Linked DNA regions of Homo sapiens: all the other regions are linked to region 2. The links are contacts of gene promoters, found by promoter capture Hi-C in blood cells and fetal thymus (Javierre and others, 2016). All regions are on one chromosome and are shown on one strand. Each heading gives the region's core, a stretch centred on a gene start or on the middle of the fragment in contact. The rest is flanking DNA. Distances are from core to core; before and after follow the strand shown.

Region 1 (3,369 bases), core at 684-3,183, 430 kb after region 2:
GGGTGTCTCACGACCCGATCTCAAATGGCCATCTAGTGGATGTTTGTGGTTTAACAAGCCCTTTCAATAAATACTTAGCGTACGGATGCTGGGGTGGCACTTTCTCAGAAGAGCTGTCCCCCTCCGCGCTCAGCTAGAATTGTCTGAAAACTCATTCTTGGCGTTCCCTGCAAGCTATAAGCTTTGTAAGTGGTGCCCCCAGTGTGATCGCCTTGAAGTTACGCGTGAAGTTGGAAAACTCATCAATTTTCGGGGAATCCCGGTAAGGGACAGTCCTGACTCCCATCAGGAGGACGGTATCCACGCGTAAACTACCAGGGGTTGGGTTATCATGGGTCAAGATTTGACCAAAGAACAGAAAGTATTTTTTTAAAACAGTGCAACAGCTACTTAAGGCTATCCAGTGCACTGTAGAGCCTGGAGCTCTACACAAGCTTTTGTTTTTAATTCGGCAGGAATGCCCTCTGTTTCCTGATCAAGGAACCTTAGAATTATTTATGGGTGCAGGTAGTCCGCTGCCCGGAAAGAGGATATGAGCAAGGCCATTTTAACTATTTTGACCACCTGAGCGCTGGTACGCTCCGCGTTGTAGCCTCTTTTTCTGCCGGATTGCGGTGAGTCAGGCTGCCCATCTTCTCCGCCTGAAGGGAATTCAGGAGATTTAAAGGAGAAGGAAAAACAGGAACCAAGACAACAGGGAGAGACTCCTCCCCACTCTTCATTCCCTTCTATGGGGGCTAAAGAAGAGATTTTTGCTAGTGAGGATGAGGACAGACCGGAGCCTTTTCCTTCCCCTATAGAAAAGTCATTGCCCTCCTTTCCTCCACCCTTAAAGGGACCTGCATCCGTTGGCCCCATTCAGCCAACAGCGCCTCCCATCCGCCTTGAGGAGATTGGAGGCCGCCCAAGAGATGGTTCTTGGATAAGACCTCGGTCAGTCTTAGTAGACGGGGGCCTCGGGGGCCTCCAAGAGGGACTTCGGAAGGGAGACTCTGAGGCGCTTTTTGGCGCATTCCTTGTTATTGTTCAAAACAACAGGAGACGTCATGAGAGTTTGCCTTTTACTGCCTTTGAAGAGTTAAAGAAAAGTATTCATGAAAATGGTGTACATTCACCCTTTACGCAGGGGATGATTGAGGCTTTGGGAAATGGTTATAAGATGACTCCACATGACTGGAAAACTTTACTAAAACTTTTGGTTTCACCTGCTGAATATACTGTGTGGTGGAGTGAGTCCAGTGATTTAGCCGTGTAGCAATCCTTACACAATTTGGATAATAATATCCCCATGCAACTTGATATGCTATTGGGAACAGGGCCTTTTGCTTCAACTCAGGCTCAGGCTTAGGCTCAGGCAGATAGCCGTCTATTTCCTCAATGCTCACAGCTAACAATACAAGCATAAAAAATACCCATAAGACAATCCCAGGGTTCCTTTATGATAGTTAAACAGGGTGCCACAGAAACATACATTGAATTTATCAACTGATTGCAGGCTGCAATAAAAAAACAGGCACCCTATCCTAAAGCTGCCAAACTTCTTATGTTGTAATTGGCTTTTGAAAATGCAAATAAGGATTGTCAGGCAGCAATAACTCCAGTCCGAGCCACTGCCACTGAAATCAGCGTGTTTATTAAAGTGTGCCAGAATATAGGCACTACAACCCATCTGGCTCAGACCTTTGCTGCAATGTTGACTGGGGCCACGTATTATAATTGTGGCCTAACTGGGCATATGGCCAAAATAACCCCACTACTCTTTTCCTACTGTTAAACAAGAAACAATTTCATACTCTCCTAGCTTGTGATCTTGATTGGCAAGTAGCAATGACTGACTTTATTGGTAATATCAGCTTTCATTGACCAGCCTCTAAACTCCTGAACTTTTTACAAACTGTGCCTGTTAAATTTGTATTTATGTTGTCTCTGAGCCCTTGCTTCACGCCACTTCTGTCTTTACAGATGGTTCAGGAAAAACTGGAAAGGCAACTATAGTGTGGCAAGATGCCACGCAGAACTGGCAGCACAAAATCCAGGAACGTTTTAAAACTACGCAACAGGCGGAGTTAGGTGCCCTCATATTGGCCTTACAAACTTTTCCTCACCATGACATAAATATGATGATAAAGTGATTCCTCTTATGTGGTGTAGTATTACTGATTTAGATCTTGCACATGCGAAGGGCATTACTAATGAAACCCTACTAGCTTTGTTTCTTACAGCACAAGAGCTCCTCTGTGCCTGTCATCACCCTCTTTACATCACACATATTTGCTCTCATTCTGGGCTATCTAGTCCTTATCAGAAGGGAACCTTCGAGCTGATGCTCTGGTACAAACACAGATGTGGTTTGCAGAGTCTCCTGCCTTTTTGCAAGCTCAAGCTGATCATTGTTTTTTTTTTCATTAGAACGCCCACAGTCTTAAACAACAGTTTCATTTGACACTTGCTCAAGCTCTCATGATTATTAAAACTTGTCCTGATTGCCAATGACATTCTCTTTCCCCCTTTTCCTTAGGGCTTGGTACCAACCCACGAGGTCTGGTGCCTAATGTTATTTGGCAAACTGATGTTACTCAGTATCCATCCTTTGGACGTTTCAAATTTCTCCAAGTTACCGTAGACGCTTATACAGGCTTAATACATGCTACCCCCTGGACTGGAGAAATAAACTGAAGATGCAATTGCTCATCTTTTTGAATCTCTTATGACTTTAGGTCTTCCACAAACTATTAAAACTGATAATAGACCTTGCTATCTTAGTGCTCGATTTGCACATGTATTGCAACTTTGGCACATACAACACAAAACTGGTATTCCTTATAACTCAACCAGTTATTAAACAAACTCATCAAACAAACAAAAAAGGGGGAATATGGGGCTCTCTTCTCTAGAATAGGACCTGTCATTGGAGAATTGACTGACAATGACGGTGATGACTCAGAAGGCACCTGACATTACCTGGGGACCGCTAAAGAAATTGGACCAACAGGCAACTATCCGGCTTGCCGCTGTGGAGGCCCCTGCAACTGCAGAGAATCAGTTTCTTATGTAACTGGCGGTAATTGGGGAAACTTCTGAGAAAAGTAAGACAGACACAGATGTTGGGCTGGTTGGTAATTCTTGTCCTTTGCCAAGTGAGATCAGCTCAAGAACATGTTTATTGGAGTCATATTCTAAATCCCCTTGTTTTTAATGTTATTACACAGTGGGATGCTGACCTGCCTTTGTTATCTAATGATACTTCTTGGACAGGAGGTCGATAGGTGTCCCTGTCATACCCCTTAACTGAAAATTTGGGATGGATTAAACTTAATGACTCCTTGATTTTATTGTTTAGTAATCCCCTCTTTGTTTTTCCACAATAGC
Region 2 (3,253 bases), core at 88-2,587:
TTTTAATTCTGCATTATTAAATGTGTAACACACTGACCCAGGGGTAAGTTGCTATTCTCAAGGTTTAGTGACCCGCATCCTTCCCCTTATATAAACAGATTTATACGGGGACAATTTCGGAATTGAATCCACTTTTAATACTTTCTCTGACTTCGCAGAAAACAGCTGGCTTTGCAGAATATATGCCTGTAGCACAATGATTATCAAGATGAGGGTAGGTGTGTTGTGTGGTTTGGCAAAGCATGTTCAGATAATTATATAAATGGTAAAAAATAAACTTTTTTTTTTTTTGAGACAGAGTCTCGCGCTGTTGCAAGGCTGGAGTGCAGTGGCGCGATCTTGGCTTACTGCAACCTCTGCCTCCCGGGTTCAAGCGATTCTCCTGCCTCAAGTAAAGCTTGACAATAACTTGGCTGCACAAATATGGGTTTTAAAAGGTTGAGAAACAGTGTTTCACACCTGCCTTTCTACACTATGTTATTAACTAATTGAATCGAGTTGGAATAAACTAGTTAGACTTGTGTGCACAATGAGTCAAATGGCTCAAATCAAAGGTCTGAGGAGCCTCCATGAACCAGGTGCTTGAGCTGTGTGATGTTAAGACTTCAGGTATACCGAGCACGCTTCATTCAGCCTTGGCTCATGAAGTCCCTACAGTCTTAGAATGGAATACCATATAACACTTCTCTGCCCATCTAAATCCCATGCAGGGTTTAAGACTCAACTTCTCCACACTCTGACCTCGTCCTGAATTCCAAGGGCAGTGAGGAGTCTATATAACAGGATATTTAATAAGTGATTACGTTCTGCTGGATGTTTTTTACTGTCTGCTTAAATCTAGCCAGTCTCAACAACAGTAGGGAGACAGGATACTCAAGCGCCAATCGAATGGAAACGGATTGTTAACAGCCTATTATAACCCTCACGTGGGAACCAGGACGTCCAAACCTGGTTAACAGAGCCCACAGAGTTCATGGGCGAAGGACTGTGACAGTCAACCTCTTGTCTGAACAAAAAGACCCACTAACGAGTGAAAAAAGACCTCCTGGGAGGGATGGGGTGGGGGAGAGGGAATTCAAACCTTCTCAACAACAAAAAGCAGCTTTCCTTAGCCCACTCCACTTTCCAGCTCAATAATTGCTACCCCTCCCGTGCGACGATTCCCTGCCCAACGTAGGAAAAAAAGAGGTCCAAAAGGTTATAGCATCACCTTTGCCCTCTGACCTAGGAGCGAAGACTCACCAGTTTCATAATGGACTTTTGGTGGTTCAATAGCAGTCACTGAACTCCTCAAACCCAGGAAGCGTCTTCCGGTGCAATCTCCGCCACCTGCCAGCCGAGAGCATCGCGGGACTTGCAGTCTTTCATCCTCACGTCCCTTCCAGGGGAATAATGGGAAATGTAGTCTCCCCTCCAGGCATCATGGGAACTGTGGTCGCCTTTCCTTTTCCTCCCTTTCCTCTCCGAACGCCTCCTTCCGTCAGCTCAAATTCATCCCAGCCGCCAATGCATCCTCCCTCTCCACCCCAGCATGATATCATGTCTTCCTTACGGGCCTGGGGCCCATGGTGTTCTGGGATGTGTAGTCCCGACGGCTCCGACTCCCCTTTCCCTCCTCCCAAAGGGAAGGCGGATGGGCACGGGGCTTGCCGGAAGTTGTAGTTCCCTTGGCCCTCTAGGCGCCGGGCTCCGCAATTTTTCTCAGGGGAGGCAGGAACTACAACTCCCAGGGACGCCCGGCGGCAGCAGGTGGGAGAGGGGCTGTTGATATCAATATGGCGGTTGTCAGCCAGACAAAGACAGTCAGTCTGATGTGATTGAGACAAGGGAGGTTTTTCAGGGGGAGACTGGGAGATAGGGGCCTCCCCTCCCCCTTCTCCTCTTCCTGCGCCGGCCTCAACCCCTCCCCAGTCCCCTCCCGACGGGCGCCCCACGCGGAAGACACCCCTCCCCCTCCCGCCTTCCCTCCTCCCTATCTCAGCCCTTCGTACTGGGACGTTGGGGAGGGGGCTGTGCCGGGCGGAGAGAACTCAGCGAGGATTCTGAGGTGAGTCGAGCGGTTTTGAAGCCGGACTACCTCAAGTCTCTTTCCTCACTTCTTTCTCTTCACTTAAAACAATTTTTTTGGAGGGGTTTTGGGGAGGAAGTGAGCGGACGCTGGGGATGGGTCTCGTAAGCGGCCGGATTGAGAGGAGGGAGGAAGCAGGGGGCTTCCGAGTGGGTGACCCAGACGCGGGCTGTGGGGTGGGGCAGTTCGTGGGGTCCGGTCCTGGAAAGGCGTCGACTGCCCCCCAACTCTTCTGGTTTCCTCTACGATGAGCGGAAGGTTTGAATCCTGGAGGTGGGGTCTCCGGTGTGGAGTTCTGGAAACTGTGAGGTGATTTGCAGGTGTGTTGGTTTGTTTGGGGTGTGTAAGTGTGTTTAAACTGTGTGACGTGTACTTGTGTGCTCTGCTCGTCTTGGAGCGGTGTCTGTAGATGGGAAGTTAGACAGCGCGAGTCCTCGCTCGCTCTGGGCCTGGGCTGAGGGGCGGGCGTGAGGTCCTGGTGCTGGGCGTTTGGGCTGGCGACGTGGTGCGAGGCGGCCGGGCTCAACAACTCGCTTGTGTCCCGTCGCCCGCTCACACTCTGCCACTCGCCTCCGCCCCCTCCCCTGGACGAATCTCCACCCCAAACTCCAGCCACGAGAACTGTAGAGATGGTGTGATGTGGAGATGGATTTTTTGCATCCTCAAGTCGGTAGATAGGTGGGAAAGGAAAAGTGTTTCTTAATATTTTATTCCGGAACCGTGTTTTGGTTACACTATTGGGGCTACTTTGAAAGGCGTCCTCCACCCACCTTCACCCCGAAACAGTAGGTAGAGGTATCTTGTCTTCGTGTGAATTAGATGAATAATTGCTGAAGATTCGGGGGGCCTGGGGTGGGGGTCGGGAGTGCTGGATTGTGTACGCGTCTGTGTGTGTCTACTAAGGAGACGGAATGTCTGTTATGTATCTGGAGATAGGGCGACTTATTTTCGTAGCAGGAGGAACTGTTGGAAATTATTTGCGGGAGAGGGGGTGCGCCGAAAGGCGCTGCTTGTATTTTTCTTCTACTCCACCCTGTTCTGTCTTGCATTTGCCTGAAAGCTGGTGGAATGGAACAGTGAAGAAGCATTGGGTGAGTAAAGGGAAGAATGCAGTTGGCATTAAAGATAACACTATGTAAAGTTGAATGGTATAAAGTGATTACTGTTTTTATTTACGCTGAAGCT
Region 3 (3,096 bases), core at 325-2,824, 370 kb after region 2:
TAAGCTTCCTCCCTGGAAGTCCAACCAAAGTTCACCCTCCTCAGTGAAGTCTAAACTCCTCTCGATTCCCTTATTTCCCTGTCATTCACCTGGCACTTAGTAACTAGCAGCCTGCTACAGCTGTTTACCTTTTAATCTAATCTTTTCACAGGCATTTTCTTTTCAAGCCCATGACAGTCATTTCCTCACAGGCATGAACCATAAAGCATGCTTTAAGAAACTGAATATGATGGTAACAGGCAACCCTAAGAAAACTTTTAGGAAGTAAAATCCCCCTAACAAGAACAATCAATTTCACTTTTTCATGTTTCTTTCTAGCTCTTGCCCATTCCTGTATACATTTTTACATAGTAATAATAATAGATTTGATCAGTTACACGTACAGCTTTACATTCTTTTTCCACTAACAGAGAAAACGATCTTCCTTGTTAAATGGTTTTGACTGTCATCATTTTAATCGCTGTATAATAGTCCCTCCATTGAGATACTAGATCATGATTACCAAGGCACTGACTCTACATTGACTCTATTAGACATTATTACATACTTCTGTGTCTTTCACCACATCAAGTATTGGAAAATGCCAAGTAAACTCATTTGAAATATCTCCTGAAATAAATTTCTTGTCCATTCTCCCTAACACCTGAAATAATCTATTTCACTGTTTCTATCTTCATTTCTTTCGTTTCCCGGTTCTACCCCCTTAGGCTAGGTAGGTAACAAAGGTATTCCAAACACCTTTTATAGATATTTACTTATTTTGGTAGTTGATCTTATACAGATTTACACACAGGAAATCCCTTGAGGAAAAGCATTAAGATCTCATCCTATCTAATATAAGCCAGATACCTGGCAGGCACTCAATCAATGTTTGCTTACCTATTAAATGTTTTTTAAGCCACCTAAAGTTAGAAAACATCAAATTCCTGGAAAGGAGAATGTTGCTGATCTAACTAATCCCACCAATTACGGCTACAGAACTTTCAGCTCCTGTAATGATTAGACGGGTTAATAATGTATGAATGGGTGTTCTGTGCGGCACATGGAAGCACACAAGAATTATCTGTTTAGCTGTACAGTCTGAACAACAACACTGGAAAACAAACGATATCTGCAAATAGAACTTGAAGATCTTGTGACAAAAATTTACCCTTTTCTCTAGTTGTTTAGCTTTGCATCTCAGATGAAGAAAGGCAAAATAAAGGTTGTAATATTAAAATTATGTAAAATTACATACACGTGTGAGCACAAACTGGCATGGAAATGAAAAGCTGTTAGGATGAAGAAAGTATGTGAACTTTTTTCTTTTTCTTTTTCCTTTTGTTAGTGGAATGTTAAAATAAATGTATGACTAGACAAATATTTCTGACAAATTAGCCATTACAACTCTTCCTGTTACTGAATTAGGGCCTAATGCTTAACCTTCAAATAACTAAGGTTCCCAAACCCACATACAGTTTAGCAGAAAGACTAAAATACTCTCACTTCGAGGATAACTGTTAAATAATAAATCAGCTAACCACCTTAAAACTCCAAACACCTAAGCACAACCACTGAATCACACAAGAACTTAATACACCAGAGTTTTCTGGAAATTTTCAGATTTTCCTCAAAAGATAGCTAATGTGATTCCAAATATCAGAGTCTACACAGTAAAACTACATCATCACAGTAACCCATTCTCATCCCCGTCCTCTTTTATAGATAGCGATTTATAAGGTTGCTTCCGGCACCTATATGATAGAAACTATTAGGACTCAAGTTTTACTCTTTGTCATAATTATACAGTATTACATAATACTAATAACTGTTCAAAGTAATATTCTTTTCAAAATTACTGGAAAGGTTCCTACAGATCATACAAGGAAGAAAAAAAAGGAAATTACTGGAAAGAAATATGGTTTTGTTTTAGTCTTTTTTTTTTTTGAGACAGAGTTTCACTCTTGTCGCCCAGGGTGGAGCACAGTGGCACGATCTTGGCTCACTGCAACCTCCGCCTCCTGGGTTCAGGCTATTCTCCCGCCTCAGCCTCCTTAGTAGCTGGGATTACAGGCGTCCACCACCACGCCCGGCTAATTTTTTGTATTTTTAGTAGAGACAGGGTTTTGCCATGTTAGGCAGGCTGGTCTCGAACTCCTGACCTCAGGTGATCCACCCGCCTCGGCCTCCCAAAGTGCTGGGATTATAAGCGTAAGCCACCGTGCCTGGCCTGTTTTAGTCTTTTTATACAAACTTTGGACACCAATTTTTAAAAATCACTGGATTTACAATCCCACCACACTGTATTCCATAATAACCTTTATATTTATGTGAACAATTACTTCATAACAAAAATGGAAAAGAACAAATTTATGTGTGGTAATCACTGAAAAAAGAAGTCCACATGCACGTCAGGAAATATAAGGCTAAGAATGGGCACTAAGTGAACACAGGAGGTACTTTACACCAAATAATGCACTTCTCTATATAGGCTAATGGAATCTATGGGTAAACCTCAATTTCAAAATGATTGTTGAACCCAAGGATCAGCTCACATCCGTTCCACAGCTAAAACTATTATTCTTTGCCTTCCTCTAAACTCTGATGTTTATTACAACCTTATCAATGGCAATTTATAAGAGAAAAGCATAAGAATTTCCCTCAAAAAGTGAAACCAATGGGGAAAGGGAGAGGGAAAGGGCTCTAAATATCTGAGATGTCTTTTGTGGTGGTTGGTTAGCGGCCTCTTTTTAGCACTGACATTTCCAAGTTTTTTGTGAAAAGGAAATTTTAAGAATGTGCTGAAACCATCCTTTCAGAATCAATTCCCAGATAAGTTATGTTTCATTTGGCTTCTTTCTTTAAATTATTGTGATGGTAAACTGGAAGTAAACTGAAATACAGATACCTGAATATTTAAAAACTGATGCTTCTGAAAATTTTCAGAATTGTATCGACGTTTATTGTGTGTTGTCAGAGCACGAGATTAGTGAAGCAAAGCAGGACTCAATCTTGCACTAGTTGAGAACTTAAAGTAATTAAGTTCTTAGGGAAAAAAACTCACCTGACAGCTTTAATCGGACCTAGCAGGAACAGGACAAAACAATTCCCATAGAT

The links. The method cuts DNA at HindIII sites, captures the fragments that hold promoters and counts their contacts. A CHiCAGO score of 5 or more calls a contact.
Region 1: a contact is called between a fragment that was not itself captured here and the fragment with the promoter of INTS9 in region 2, in 1 of 17 cell types (endothelial precursors). The highest score is 5.4, in endothelial precursors.
Region 3: a fragment that was not itself captured here is called in contact with the fragment with the promoter of INTS9 in region 2 in 7 of 17 cell types (fetal thymus, naive CD4 T cells, non-activated CD4 T cells and 4 more); the score reaches 7.4 in fetal thymus.

What each region holds. Positions count from the first base shown.
Region 1 is chr8:29,314,869-29,318,237 of GRCh38, forward strand. The region is part of intron 1 of LOC124901922 (a long non-coding RNA gene); the gene reads right to left. Among named protein-coding and RNA genes, the nearest start is that of DUSP4, 34 kb to the right of the region's middle. RefSeq lists an enhancer at 131-350. The HindIII fragment of the contact is 3,002 bases long and covers 433-3,369 here.
Region 2 is chr8:28,888,632-28,891,884 of GRCh38, forward strand. INTS9 (integrator complex subunit 9) reads right to left here and starts at 1,338. Exons shown (of 17, transcript NM_018250.4): 1 at 1,243-1,338. The coding sequence starts at 1,251. HMBOX1 (homeobox containing 1) reads left to right here and starts at 1,764. Exons shown (of 10, transcript NM_001135726.3): 1 at 1,764-2,047. RefSeq lists enhancers at 1,121-1,677, 1,317-1,516, 1,678-2,234 and a silencer at 1,887-2,006. The HindIII fragment of the contact is 2,854 bases long and covers 396-3,249 here.
Region 3 is chr8:29,258,708-29,261,803 of GRCh38, forward strand. The region is part of intron 1 of KIF13B (kinesin family member 13B); the gene reads right to left. Among named protein-coding and RNA genes, the nearest start is that of KIF13B, 2.8 kb to the right of the region's middle. The HindIII fragment of the contact is 3,145 bases long and covers 3-3,096 here.